3 separate regions of the Homo sapiens genome follow, and regions 2 and 3 are each linked to region 1. Evidence: promoter capture Hi-C in 16 types of primary human blood cells and fetal thymus (Javierre and others, 2016). All regions are on one chromosome and are shown on one strand. Each heading gives the region's core, a stretch centred on a gene start or on the middle of the fragment in contact. The rest is flanking DNA. Distances are from core to core; before and after follow the strand shown.

The links. The method cuts DNA at HindIII sites, captures the fragments that hold promoters and counts their contacts. A CHiCAGO score of 5 or more calls a contact.
Region 2: a contact is called between a fragment that was not itself captured here and the fragment with the promoter of CDC16 in region 1, in 1 of 17 cell types (endothelial precursors). The highest score is 5.8, in endothelial precursors.
Region 3: a contact is called between a fragment that was not itself captured here and the fragment with the promoter of CDC16 in region 1, in 1 of 17 cell types (M1 macrophages). The highest score is 5.8, in M1 macrophages.

The regions. Positions count from the first base shown.
Region 1 is chr13:114,232,480-114,236,369 of GRCh38, forward strand. It overlaps CDC16 (cell division cycle 16), which reads left to right and starts at 2,418. Exons shown (of 18, transcript NM_001078645.3): 1 at 2,418-2,653. The coding sequence starts at 2,606. RefSeq lists an enhancer at 2,217-2,266 and a silencer at 2,377-2,736. The HindIII fragment of the contact is 7,021 bases long and covers 1-3,682 here.
Region 2 is chr13:113,918,682-113,922,737 of GRCh38, forward strand. LINC00452 (long intergenic non-protein coding RNA 452) reads left to right here. Exons shown (of 8, transcript NR_164112.1): 6 at 754-973; 7 at 2,042-2,239; 8 at 2,369-2,636. Among named protein-coding and RNA genes, the nearest start is that of SWINGN, 8.3 kb to the right of the region's middle. RefSeq lists an enhancer at 1,043-1,927. The HindIII fragment of the contact is 3,996 bases long and covers 632-4,056 here.
Region 3 is chr13:113,765,692-113,769,929 of GRCh38, forward strand. TMEM255B (transmembrane protein 255B) reads left to right here. Exons shown (of 9, transcript NM_182614.4): 2 at 424-566; 3 at 3,407-3,469. Among named protein-coding and RNA genes, the nearest start is that of TMEM255B, 8.6 kb to the left of the region's middle. The HindIII fragment of the contact is 184 bases long and covers 1,637-1,820 here.

The sequences.
Region 1 (3,890 bases), core at 1,168-3,667:
TGATGAGTTAGGGTATCTGGCAGAGGACTCCTGAAAGTGATTTCTGTTAAATCTCGCCCTGGCAATATTAATTACAAATTTACCTTCCAGGTACAAAACAAGGACAAGATGAGATTAGTCACTCTTCTGCCTACCCTGATATGGGCTACATAACTCTTTCCTCTACTCCCTCTTGTCAGATGTTTGCCTCATCTTATGTAAATTGTTGGTTTACTGAGCACTAATCAGAGCATCACTGTGGACCCCTCCCTTTTTTTCCTCCTGCTTGCCGTCTCCTCCTAAACACCCAGTCCCCATAACCCTATTTGGATGGCACAGTTGATGCTTCTGTGGCTTGCGTTTTTCCCGGGCCCATCATCAGACTTCTACTGATGGAGACATTTGCCTCAGTCACTCATTTTTGGTTAACTAGGAATCTCATTAAATGGATAGAAGTCGTTGAAAATATGGCTTAAAACACACCTCACCACATGCCTGCCCCAAGTTAATGAGCAGAGTTGATTACTGCCTGCTTGCAGAAGTGGGAAAGGAGGAGGAAAAGGAAATATACAGGGGGACAAATTTTTAAACACAACTTCAAAATATTACCCAGTCATATATGTATACACACACATAGAAAATTACACGGCAGATTACTTACAGTAGCGTGAGAGAATTTTTGAGTGGGTGGGATTCTTTACAGCAAGTTTTTTTTTTTTTGCTTCTTTGAATTTTTTTTACTCTTTTAGGTTTTTATATTTATAAAAGTTATATTTACTTTTTAAAAGTGTCAACCTTAATATTGAGATTCAGAAATATGATTACATATAGTGTGTATTTGAGCACAGAGCCTGAGAATGGCCACCTGGACAAATGGGGTCAGCCTTTCCAAGTGGAGCTCAGGTCTCTCTTACCAGGCGGAGACAGAAGCTCCAGCAGGATCACCACAGTTCTCATATGAGACCAGGGGCACACGCCGCAGCGGTTCCATTGGTTAGGGATCTCTGTATTTGAAGGAAGATTGCGTTATAACTCCATGAGGAGGGGTAGTGATCTGAGGGGGTCTTATCTCCGGTGCCATTTGGTCTTTATTGTTTACAGGGAAAAAGGCAGAAGTTACAGCTGGGTGTGGCATGACCTAGGCCGCGTAGCCACATTCCCCTCAAGGCTCAGGTAATTCAAAGTTCCAACAGCTTCAAGTTTAAATTATTTTAAGTTTGAATGATTTAATTTCACAAAAGGTAATATATGCACATTGACTGAAATTCAAAAGCACAAAAAGATATCCAAGGAAGTACCTCTCCCACTTCTACCATCTCTCATCTTCCAGCACTCCTTCCAGAGGCCTTGCGCTATGCCGGTTTTCTCATTTTTCCTTCCTGGGACAGTTTAGGGATTTTTCTACCTATCATTAAATTCGTATTTTACTCAAATGCAGGCATACGATAAACACGATCCTATACTTGCTTTTTCCCACATACTATATCTTGAAGATCGTTCAATGTCCATGCAAAGCTGACTGTTCTTTTGAACAGCCAGCGAGTATTCCATTACGTGAGCGTATCATGACCTATTTACTCAGTTCCATACTTCATGGGTGTTTAAATTGTCTGCAATCTTTTGCTATTACAAACGAAACCACAGGTCATTTTGCACACATGCAAAAATGCAAATCCATGGTATATTTCCCAAAATAAAAATCATTAGGTTTAACAGCACGAACACCTTTAAATTTGGAAGATATTCCAATTCGTTCATCCTAGAGAGTATACCAATACCACTCACAAAACTTGAGGGTGCCTGCTTCCCGACATTCCTGCTAGCAGTGTCATCAACCTTTGTGATCTTTGTTAACATATGAAAAGTGGTACTCTAATTTTAATTTTTATTATGAATTAAGTTGGACTTTCTTTCGTATGTTAAAGTCTATTTGCATTTCTTTCCCTGTGAACTGTTTTTTGCCTGTCTTTCTCCTGAGCCATTGGTCTCTTCCCACTGACTTATTACATATATGTAAAGGGAATATTGGCTCTACATTATAAGGAAATTCGAATTTTGTGATAGGTTTCAAATTTTTCCCTAGGTTGTCTTTGACTTCATTTGCTGTTTGTGCACACAATTTTTTTTTTTTGTAATGAGAGTGCGTTGCTCTTATTTTTAAAATGTTGACTACATTCTGGGGAAAGAAGGCTCAGCAGCCACCTGCTTTTTTGCCCGGGTGGGTGGTCCGGCCCCGAGCCCTCCTGACTCTCTCGCCAATGCCCAGAGGCGCCGCAGCGATTCCAGGGAGGCCGCGCTCTCGCCCCAAGGCAACCAGAAGCCCACGTGCCAGGAGAGGCATCGGAACCAACAACTCGGGTCCGTTTTCCCGCGCCAGATGGGATTCGTTTGCTGTGGACTTCCGGGGCGGGGCCTGCCTGGAGCGGAAGAGCCTGGGCAGTGCACGGGGCCTGGGTGGGGGGTGCGGGTGTGGGTGGGGACCTGCGGCCTTCGAGTCCGCGGCCTTCGAGTCCTGGGGCGGCGGCGGCGGCTGCAGGCACGGGCACGGGCACGGGGCGGGGTGCTTAGGGTGCAGGAGGCGCGCGCCTAGCGGCGGAGTGTGGCGTGAGGCCGGGCCCGCGCCGCCATGAACCTAGAGCGGCTGCGGAAGCGCGTCCGGCAGTACCTCGACCAGGTGGGCGGCCCCGACTCGGGGTGCGGGGCCCAGGCCTCGCCGGGTCTTTTTCCGCGCGGCGTGGGGCTGGGGTGACTGTTGTCGGGGCTCTTGGTGGGGAAGGACTGGGCCGGCCCTGGGCCTTCATCTGGGGCCAGCAGCGCTGTCTCCGCCTCGCCCAGAAGGGAGCGGTCCCTGCAGCTGGGAGGGGCACAGCCCGGGGAGTGGAGGCCCCCGAGCGCACGGGGCGCCTCAGTCGGGTCTGAGCCTCGTTCTGCACCTGGCGCGGAGGAGGTGCCCAGGAAACACTGACTACTCAGTGCAAGTTGAAGGACAATTTTTGGAGGAAAGTTGCAGGGCTAGCTAATAAAACATTTTTGAGAGGTTTAGTTGTAATTTTTACTGGGCTGAATTTAAGTGAATAAAGATGTGAAGAAGCCTGTTGTCTCAAATCAATACTTTAAAAATTCTCGTTAACTATGTCTGTGTTCTCTGCACTACCTTTGAATAGCAGAGAGCGTTTAAGGCAAGAAGTGTCTTCGAGAATCAGCAGCATCAGTTTTATCTATATTGTTGTTTATTTTTTGTTGAAATGCTTGCTCTTTCAGGAAATTGGAAAGAAAGGGAAAGAAAAGCCATGGTAATGCAGAGTTTTCGGAATTGGGTGCTAACTGACGTGGCCAAATGTTTGCAGTCCATTTGGAGGGCTGTGTTTTTATTTACCATGAGTCAGTTGAATTCAGTGTTTTCTGATCACTTTTTCTTCGGTACGGAGACGTAGTGAGGAATATGACAGGCCCGGTTTCCAGCCAGAGACACCGGTATTGAGCATATTTATAACTATCCCGTTGGCATTCCTCCTGCCTCGGGCTAGCAGCAGTGGTCCTGGCTTGTCTCCAGGGGAACTGAGGCAGAGACTGTAGAAGACTGAGGACTGAGGAGCAGAACAGGGTCTAAAGCTAGCCGTAGGTCACTGTGGGTGGCCCTCATTGTCGGCTCCTTCATTTTTGTTAGACTTGGAGGAGGTGAGTTCTTCCCCATGTTCAGTGAAGCTTAGTTAATTTATGTGTGTGTGTTTTTAAACTTGAGTGTTATTAAAACTGCCACTGTGTTATATAAGGTATTTGAGTATAGTGTTCTGTCTTCTAAATTTCACTTTGGGATTCATTAACAGCTCGTTGAAAGTGTTATATAAATCACACATGAATTGTTAATGACTAGCTTTTGCTGTTTCACTTGCATTTCACTTGTATGTTTC
Region 2 (4,056 bases), core at 1,380-3,879, 310 kb before region 1:
ACTCTCATGGCTGGTAACAGCCCAGGGTACCCCTCCAGCTCTGCCCTCCCAACTCTGGCTGCCCCCAGGTGTTCCCCGTGTCCAGCCCTGTGATGGGGAGTGCAGAGCGAGGCTTGGAGGGTGGGCGGGGAGCAGGTTCTGATCTCAACTCTTCCGTGCTCTGGGTGAGCAAGGCGGCTGCCTAAGGTCCCAAGGACAAGAGCCCGCAGCGACGGTCAGGATCATTGAGGAGAACGCCTGGAAAGTGCTTGTTGAGTTCTCTGTCCATAGTAGGTGCTCGGTAAATGTCAAAGATTTCCCAAATATTTGTATTGCTGCCAAGCTGAAGCATTTAGAAATGCATCAGTTTCATCTCCTCTTTGTGGTTGGACTTGGGCCCAGAAGCTGGTCCCCAAAGTGGCTTCACTTGTAGGACCAAGTATGAGCCCAGCCCAGCCCACAGCTGCCGCGCAGCCCTGCGACCCATTGGGTTATAAGGTGGAGGTCTCGGAGCTTCTGCTAGGAGCCCCCACCAGCCTCTGAGTCAACCAGAGGCCCCGGCGGCTGACCCCCTACAGCCCCCGGGGCCACAGCCCGAAGTGTGGGTTGAAGGGCTCCTGGCAGAAGCCTGGCCTGCAAGCACCGGCATCCAAGCTTCCACAGCAAAGTGATCCCATGCCAGGAGCAGACGTGACGGCTCCCTCAAACCAGGAAAACCTGTTTAAAATTCCACATGTCACCGTGGGCCTTCCTTTTCCACCCTCCATCGTCCAGCAGGTGTCGGGCCCCAGGCTGGAGGCCACGTGCCAGGCTGGCAGGATTTGTCCACTGTGAAGCTCGACGCCCCCGCAGGCCCTGTGCTGCCCGCCCGGATCCCCCTGCCTCAGGATGCCCTCCACACCCTCCGAATTCCCAGCCGCTGCTCTGGGGCCTGCACAGAGGGCTTGGGCCCAGCACCTGGAAACTCCAAAGAGGCAAACGGGTTCATGTCCAGGTAAACCTCAAGATGTGGCTCTGAGGAGTTTCCTTTTATGGGTTTTACTGCTTTTTAAAAACACTCCTTATTTTCGAAATAGAATGTGACGCCCCACCCTCACCCTGTCCAGGAGGCCCAGCCAGTGCCTCTTCTGTGCCCCTAGACACCTCTGAGAACTCCAGGCACCAGCATTAATATCCTGGAGCCCTGGAGCCCCGGAGCCCCTGAGTGTGCCAGATCCTGAGTGTGCCGGGCCTGAGTGTGTGCCAGGCCCCAAGTGTGCCGTGCACTGTGTGTGTTGTGCCCCCAGTGTGCCAGGCACTGAGTGTGCCAGACCCCGAGTGTGCTGTGCCCTGTGTGTGTCATGCCCTAAGTGTGCTGTGCCCTGAGTGTGCCAGACCCTGAGTGTGCTGGACCCTGTGTGTGCTGGACCCTGTGTGTGCCAGGCCCTGAGTGTGCCATGCCCTGAGTGTGCTGGGCCTGTGTGTGCCAGACCGTGTGTGTGCCAGGCCCTGAGTGTGCTGGGCCCCATGTGTGCTGGGCCTGTGTGTGCCAGACCGTGTGTGTGCCAGGCCCTGAGTGTGCTGGGCCCCATGTGTGCTGGGCCTGTGTGTGCCAGACCGTGTGTGTGCCAGGCCCCATGTGTGCTGGGCCCTGAGTATGTCAGGCCCTACAGGCAGCGCCTGCAGATGGAGCTCACAGAGAGGCTAGAGGGGGAAATCTGCTTAAAGTCTTGTCTGCTCTCTTCATCCTTCAGTGGATGTGGAATTTAATCTGGCAGATACTTACATGGCTGCTGGATGGTAGAACTGTACAAGGTCCACCCAAGTGAGGAGGGAGCTGTGAGGCGTGGTGGGAATGGAGGATGGGGGCTGTGGCCTACTGGGCTCCCTGTGTCCACCCCACATCCACCCAGTAACTCATAAGCCACAAATAGATGTGCCTTGATCTACTTAATGCCTCATTGCTAGATAGTTGGATTGTCTCCTGTTATGCATTTGCCACCCAGAGCCTCATCATTCCTCCTGTCATTACTTTCTAGTGGGAGAGTGGGTCAAAGGTGTGAACTCCTGTATTCACCCCTAGGTTTTGTCAGATCGCTTCCGAGGCTGCCCTCTTCGCCGTGGCTGCTGAGTGCAGAGCTGGGCATCTGAGTGGACAGAGTGGTGCTCCGCTTCCTTGCATCTCCTGGGCCATGCGTGGTGACCTGTGCCCACTGCATCGCTCCTGTGTGCCCTGTGCATGTGACCGTGTCTTTCCCGTGTATTCAGTGCTGCTTCATGTGTGAGTTTCTCTGTGTTCCAAACCCCAACTACAGTGATTTTACAGATGAACCTTAATAGATGTGAAATCTATAAGTAGCTATTAATCTTTGTGTCATATTTACTGCAAATATTTCCCCCACTCCACTAGCTTCCAGTTCCGCTTTGTGGTTTGTGAGTGACCAGTGCATCCCGTTCCTGCTGCAGCAGCTGCAATGTGCACTGTCCTGCAGGAAGCCCTCGGGGTAGGGCCTGGGGGCTGTGGGAAGCTCAGCAACAAGGTAAGGGAATGGGCAGCTTTGTTTTATTTATTTATTTATTTTTACTATTTAATTATCTCACCTTATTACACTTTAATTAAAATATCGATCTTTACACAATACACTTGAACTGTGGAATAAAGCAGGACCAGATGTGGACCCTGGAGCTGACAGTTACTTGCCTCCCACCCAGCCACGTCCTAATTCTCTTTTTGCAAAAGCAACTACTTGTCCCTGTTAAAGCTGTTCCTTCTGGTCATGACTGTTTTATCACAAAATCATATGCCTCTATTTTTGTTGCTTGACTTACCCATTTTAGACATTATCTGTTTATTTCCTGCTGGACAGGTATTTTAGCTCCATCTCCCCTACTTCCACATCCACACTATAATTATATCTCTATTTTTAGTTAAATCCATAGTTAGTATTTACATTTTCATGACTAAGTAAATATTGCTTATGACTGAGCCAAACAAAGCATGATGGTTATTTTTCATTCCATCAACAGCTTCCCCCTGCCCTTCGCCCACCCTGATAGTTTTGACTTTTTTTCTCACAACACATTCTCATGTGTGTTCATAGTCTCCCGACTATCTTCTATCTGCCTTCACCCCCAGTGCTCCATTATGCCAGGAGGTCTCCTCAGGATGAGCCCCATGTGCAGCCTACATTGTGCTACTCTCTCAGATCCAGTGTGCAGCTCTCCTCCTGGGACTTCCCTCCACAACTTTTCTCAGTTGAATCCACTATGTGTTGGATCCCAGGTCTTCCTCTTTATTTTCTCCTTCATTTTGCTGGAGCACATCCTCAAGTAACTTTCTAAAATAAGTTTAAACAGGTAAATGTTTTGGAAGGTTGAATGCCACAAAACATCTTTATTCTACCTTCATACTTGACTCATAATATTGCTGGAACCAATTTCTAAGTTCAAAATCATTTTTCAGGAGCTAGGAATTGAACTCAACCTATCTAATTCCAAAATTAGGGTTATTTTATTTGACACGATCTCTGGCTAGGAAGCAAGCACAACAGCTCCACCGTTATTGGCAAGTTACTGAAAGCAACCCTTTGACAGCAGCCGCAGATCCACAGCCATACAGAATTTTCCTTTTTAAACAAGTTGCTCACCATTAGGATGCTCTGATTTCTCCATTTGTAAAATGAAGATTCTCTGTCAACTTTTGGTTTTAGTTTTTGGTCTGGCATATTTGGTAAGCTACAAGTGATCTTTGGCTGAAAATCAGTCATGTGTGGCGGGTCGTTTCACCAGGTGCCCTGCACCCAGAGATCTAGGGCCCTCAATCGTCCTTCAGTTGCTGTCAGTGCAAGGGCAATCTCACCCAACCCTCCACAGGGAAAGGCAACTGCCACACGCCTCTGAGAGCAGGGATGCAGCAAGCGCTGACTCTGGGCTTACAGGGGTCCCGCCCATAACAGCGCACCACAGACCAGGGCTCACCCCACAAACATTTTTCTCGCTCAGTCCTGGAGGCAGAAAGGCCAACATCAGGGTGCCAGCATGGCTGGCGTCTGGTGAGGCTCTCTTCCTGGTTTGCAGACTGTTGCCATGGTATTGTGA
Region 3 (4,238 bases), core at 479-2,978, 470 kb before region 1:
CCCCACTGGGTGTGGCTGGGATAGGCGGATAGAGAGGGTGTGTCTGTGAGCGAATGGTAATGATAAAACAGTAAACAAAAGATGCTCCTGTCCTCCTGGGGACACCAGGGGGAGAAAGTCAGATAGAGGAAGAGGCAGCCAATAGGAAGGAGTCCTTTCTAGTTTGCTTTCTTGAGTTCTGTGACAGTTAGAATTAGGTTTGGCCGCAAATACCAGGCTATCCAGTATAGTGGCTTATGGTCCAGAGATTTTATTCTGTTATCTAATGGAGGTTGGGGGTGGTCCCCTGAGGTGGGCCTGGAGGCAGGCGGGGATAGTGCATCCCAGGACCCCTGGGTAACGGAGCACGGCCCAGAGCCTGCTGGCCTGACGCCCTCCTGAGCCTGAGCCCTCACTGACAGGTCCTCGCCTTCCTCCCCACAGAAGGGCTTTCGAGGAGGAAGAAGACGTCGCTCTGGTTTGTGGGGTCTCTGCTGCTGGTGTCCGTCCTCATAGTCACCGTCGGGCTGGCTGCCACCACCAGGACGGAGAATGTGACCGTTGGGGGCTACTACCCAGGGATCATTGTGAGTGCGCCGGGCGGGCGGCCTGGGCCGGGGAGGGCAGGGTGGTGTGTGGCTCTCTCAGGGTGGAGTCCACGCCAGCTCACAGGGCTGGGGCTGAAGGTGGGGAGGCTTCGATCAGTGCTTGTGGTCGGCAGGGTTATGGCCCCCACAGACATGCACTTCCCAATCCCCAGGACCTGGGACAGTGGCAGGTCCAAGGCAGAGGGGAATTGGGGTTGAGGTCCAAGTTGATCTCAAAATAGGGCCAGGTGCCCTCCATTGTCTGGGTTGGCCCGATGTGGTCACAGGGTGACCAGAGGGCAGGAGGGGGGCCAGAGCCCGGCAACAGGAAATGTCCAAGGTGGAGGAGGGGCCAGGAGCCCAGGATGTCCAAAAAGGCCGGACAGAGCCTCCCCAAGCATCCTGGAAGGATTTTACCCTGAGGGACCAGGTCGACCACCATAGCCCATGGAAGGGGAAAGTAACTTTAAACGATTCCTACCAAGAAGCCGTGGGTCAAAGATCGTATTAGTGACGTGATCGCGTGGGAACGGCCAGAAGGTGGTGGTGCTGACCTCATCCACCCGTCAGGCCAGATTTTGAACAGTAAGGCGGCGAGGTAAATTGATGGTAACCTAATTGGCAAGAATTGGTCACCCAGATTCAAAAGTATCAAGGTTTTTTGAACTATGAAATTACATCCTCTGTCGTTAGTAAAAGAATTCTCCTAAGTGCCTGCATTCTGCACAGTGAACCTCTGTTGGAATGGCTTGGATCAGCTGCGATGCCCTTCACATGCCCCAGAGCCTGGTTGCTACGTCATAAAGTGCTAAAGCAAGATTTTAAAATGCGGCTTCTTCAATCTCATTACTCTCACCTAAAGTACTACCAAGATTGGTAATAATATTGATGACAATCAGCAAAGATGAAAGATTTTTGGCCCTAAGTATTTAGAAATATTTTACAAATACTGTTTATTTCACCATTATATTTTCCTTTGTTTATATCTTAGGGTGTGCCTTAGACATCTACACTATCTACCTGTGTATAGTTTATGAATAAACATATACAAATAGTATCTATGCAGAAAAAGCTTTATCAGTAAAATTGCAAGAGGCCAATGGTGTGGGGACCTTGGCCTCATGTGAGGGGCTTTTCTGCTTCCTGGGCAGAAAGGGGAGCCCAGAGGGCAAGTGGCTGTGAGGAGGGACCTCCAAGTGATTTGCGAAACATCAAGATCAGCCTTGAGTGGTTGTTTTTTTTGGTTTGTCCTCAAGCTTATTTAAGAGCTGCCTCAGAATAACATAATGAAAAACATCAATGGCTAATGCCCAAGCTATGCTCTGTAAAGAATCTACCTTCTGGGCAATGAATTAATGCTGTGCTGACCAGATTGAAATGGCCTGTAGTACAGACAGTTCTGAAAGCAAACTAGGGAGACAACAAATAAAAGCAGCTTCAAGGAAACGTGGCTAAGAGTCACTTCTGTGGAGACTTTCTGCCAATGTAGAGACTTAAGAAGCTGATCTCAGAAGAAGCGGCCAGAACGTGAAAACATCTCCACATTTTCAAGAAAGGTGTGGTTTTTTTCAAATCCCCAAAAAATAAAACGTAGTGTAACAGATGTATTTTAATACATGTATATCGAAGTGAAATTTTGATATTTTTGACGTGTGGAGTTGAACTGCAGTATTTTGAAGCTCAGCACATGAAGAAATATTCCTGTTATCCCTGGAGAATTCTCAAACCGTTGGTGAAAGCCACATGTGTACGTGTCTATCACCACAGACACACAGACAATTACAGAAAAGGCAAAACTATTTACATAAAGAAGTCCGGTTTCCAGTGCATTAAACTTGACACCACGGCCCCAGCAACTCCAAGGCTGTGCCGGGCGGGCCACCCCTTCCAACAGACACTCACTGGGAAGTGCGACCGGCCCGGCGCACCTGCGTGGGAGCAAGAGCCGTCTTAGGCCTCGGCACGGTCGTTGGCAGGTCCATGTTGGCTGCTCTGAGCCAGATTTTCGGTGGGTGTTGCTGAAATGCATGTTCTTCACACTGATTTTAAAAATTCCTCTGCCAGGTGGGCGTCACCTGCCAGGACGGGCCCTGGGTGGAGGGTGCGGATGCCCGGCCGGTGGCCTCTGTTCTAAGACAGCACAGTCCCATGTCTATTTCCCGACATCCCAGTATCATTTTCTGCCCAGAGCTGGGGCTTCCTGTGGAGTAAGGGGGCTCTGCCGGACCCCTGGTGGCCTGTGCTGCAGCCCGGGGCCCCCTCTGTGCCTGGCCCAGGTGCCCCCTCTGTGCCTGGCTCAGGTGCCCTTTCCCCACACCTGGCACCTCCCTGCTAACGGTCTGCCCTGCTCACTCTCCCGAAGCAGCAACCAGAGTTAGGCCGTCTGAGCAGGGGTCACTGGTGGCCCTTGTGCCTGGCAACCCTTCTTTTGAAACACGGCTGTAGTTCCCTAATACCTTACCCAGGAGCCATGCTCAGGGGCATCTCAGGCCTGGAGAAGACGGGACAGATGGTGGTGCTTGGTGGCCCTGGGTTCCCGAAAAGATGTTGTCTCTGGGGGAGGAGTGGGAACTTCTCTTACCCCAGAGTCACAAGCCAAACAGATGCATCATTAAAAACCTCTGAGCAGAGAAGACAGGACAGGTGATGTTGCAGAGATGCCTGCCCAACGCCAGCAGACGCACCTGCTGCTCAGTGGTTGAGGTTCTTGAGGTAGGGATGTCTGGCCTTCGTCCCTGGATAAAATGCCTTTGAGGGCGGGATTATTTGCTTTAAATGTCAGTGTTAAGCTTCTAGGCACGTTAATGAGTGTTTCTCTCTCGTTCTTCCTTTGGTTTTAGCTCGGCTTTGGATCTTTCTTAGGAATTATTGGCATCAACTTGGTGGAGAATAGAAGGCAAATGGTAAGAAAGTACATGGGGTGGTGGGGAGCATGAGTCCCTCATCAGGGGATGGTACAGCTGCACTGGGGCTCTGAGAAGAGTCAGCCCTGCCTCCCCAGCACACTGGTGTCTACAGGACCAGCTCTGAGGTTCCCGGGCTGTGGCCTGCACAGTCCTGGATACAGGGTTCAGCGAGTACCATTCACACCTTAGTCTAAGCGAGCATGGCCCTGGGTTGCTGGTGTATCAACCTCACGTGGTGTGCAACCACCAATGCTGAGGCCTGGGAAGCTCAGAGAATGCATGAAGTTTGGGACGGGGGTGGCAAATTAAATTAAGTCCTAGTGTGTAAAGTTCAGGCAAAAACATGTGCATAAGCCTCTCTTCCTTTTGAACCAGTGGCTCTAGAGTCTTGTTTTTCGTCTGAGTTTGGTTAATGTTTATCTTGCCCAGACTAAGAGGAGAGGTAAAGACATAAAACCAGGAGGGAGCCCCCGGTTCACATGGCAGCAATGCAGAGTGAAATCCAGACACTGCCTGTCCATGATGTTCGTGGCTGTATGCGCGGCAACAGCGATCAGGTTCAGCTGGAAGTCTGTTTTGTTGATGCACTGTTTTGGGGACTATAACTTTAAAAACAAAAACTGGCTAATTTTGTCAGTTCACGGTGGCAGCCAGGATTGAATTTTAAGAGCAGGGTTTAGAGGGGAGGTGGTTGGGCCATTTCTGCCTCATCTCCCAGTTGTTGCTTCAGAGCAGGCTGGAGTTCTCAGCTCTTCCCTGCACCGGC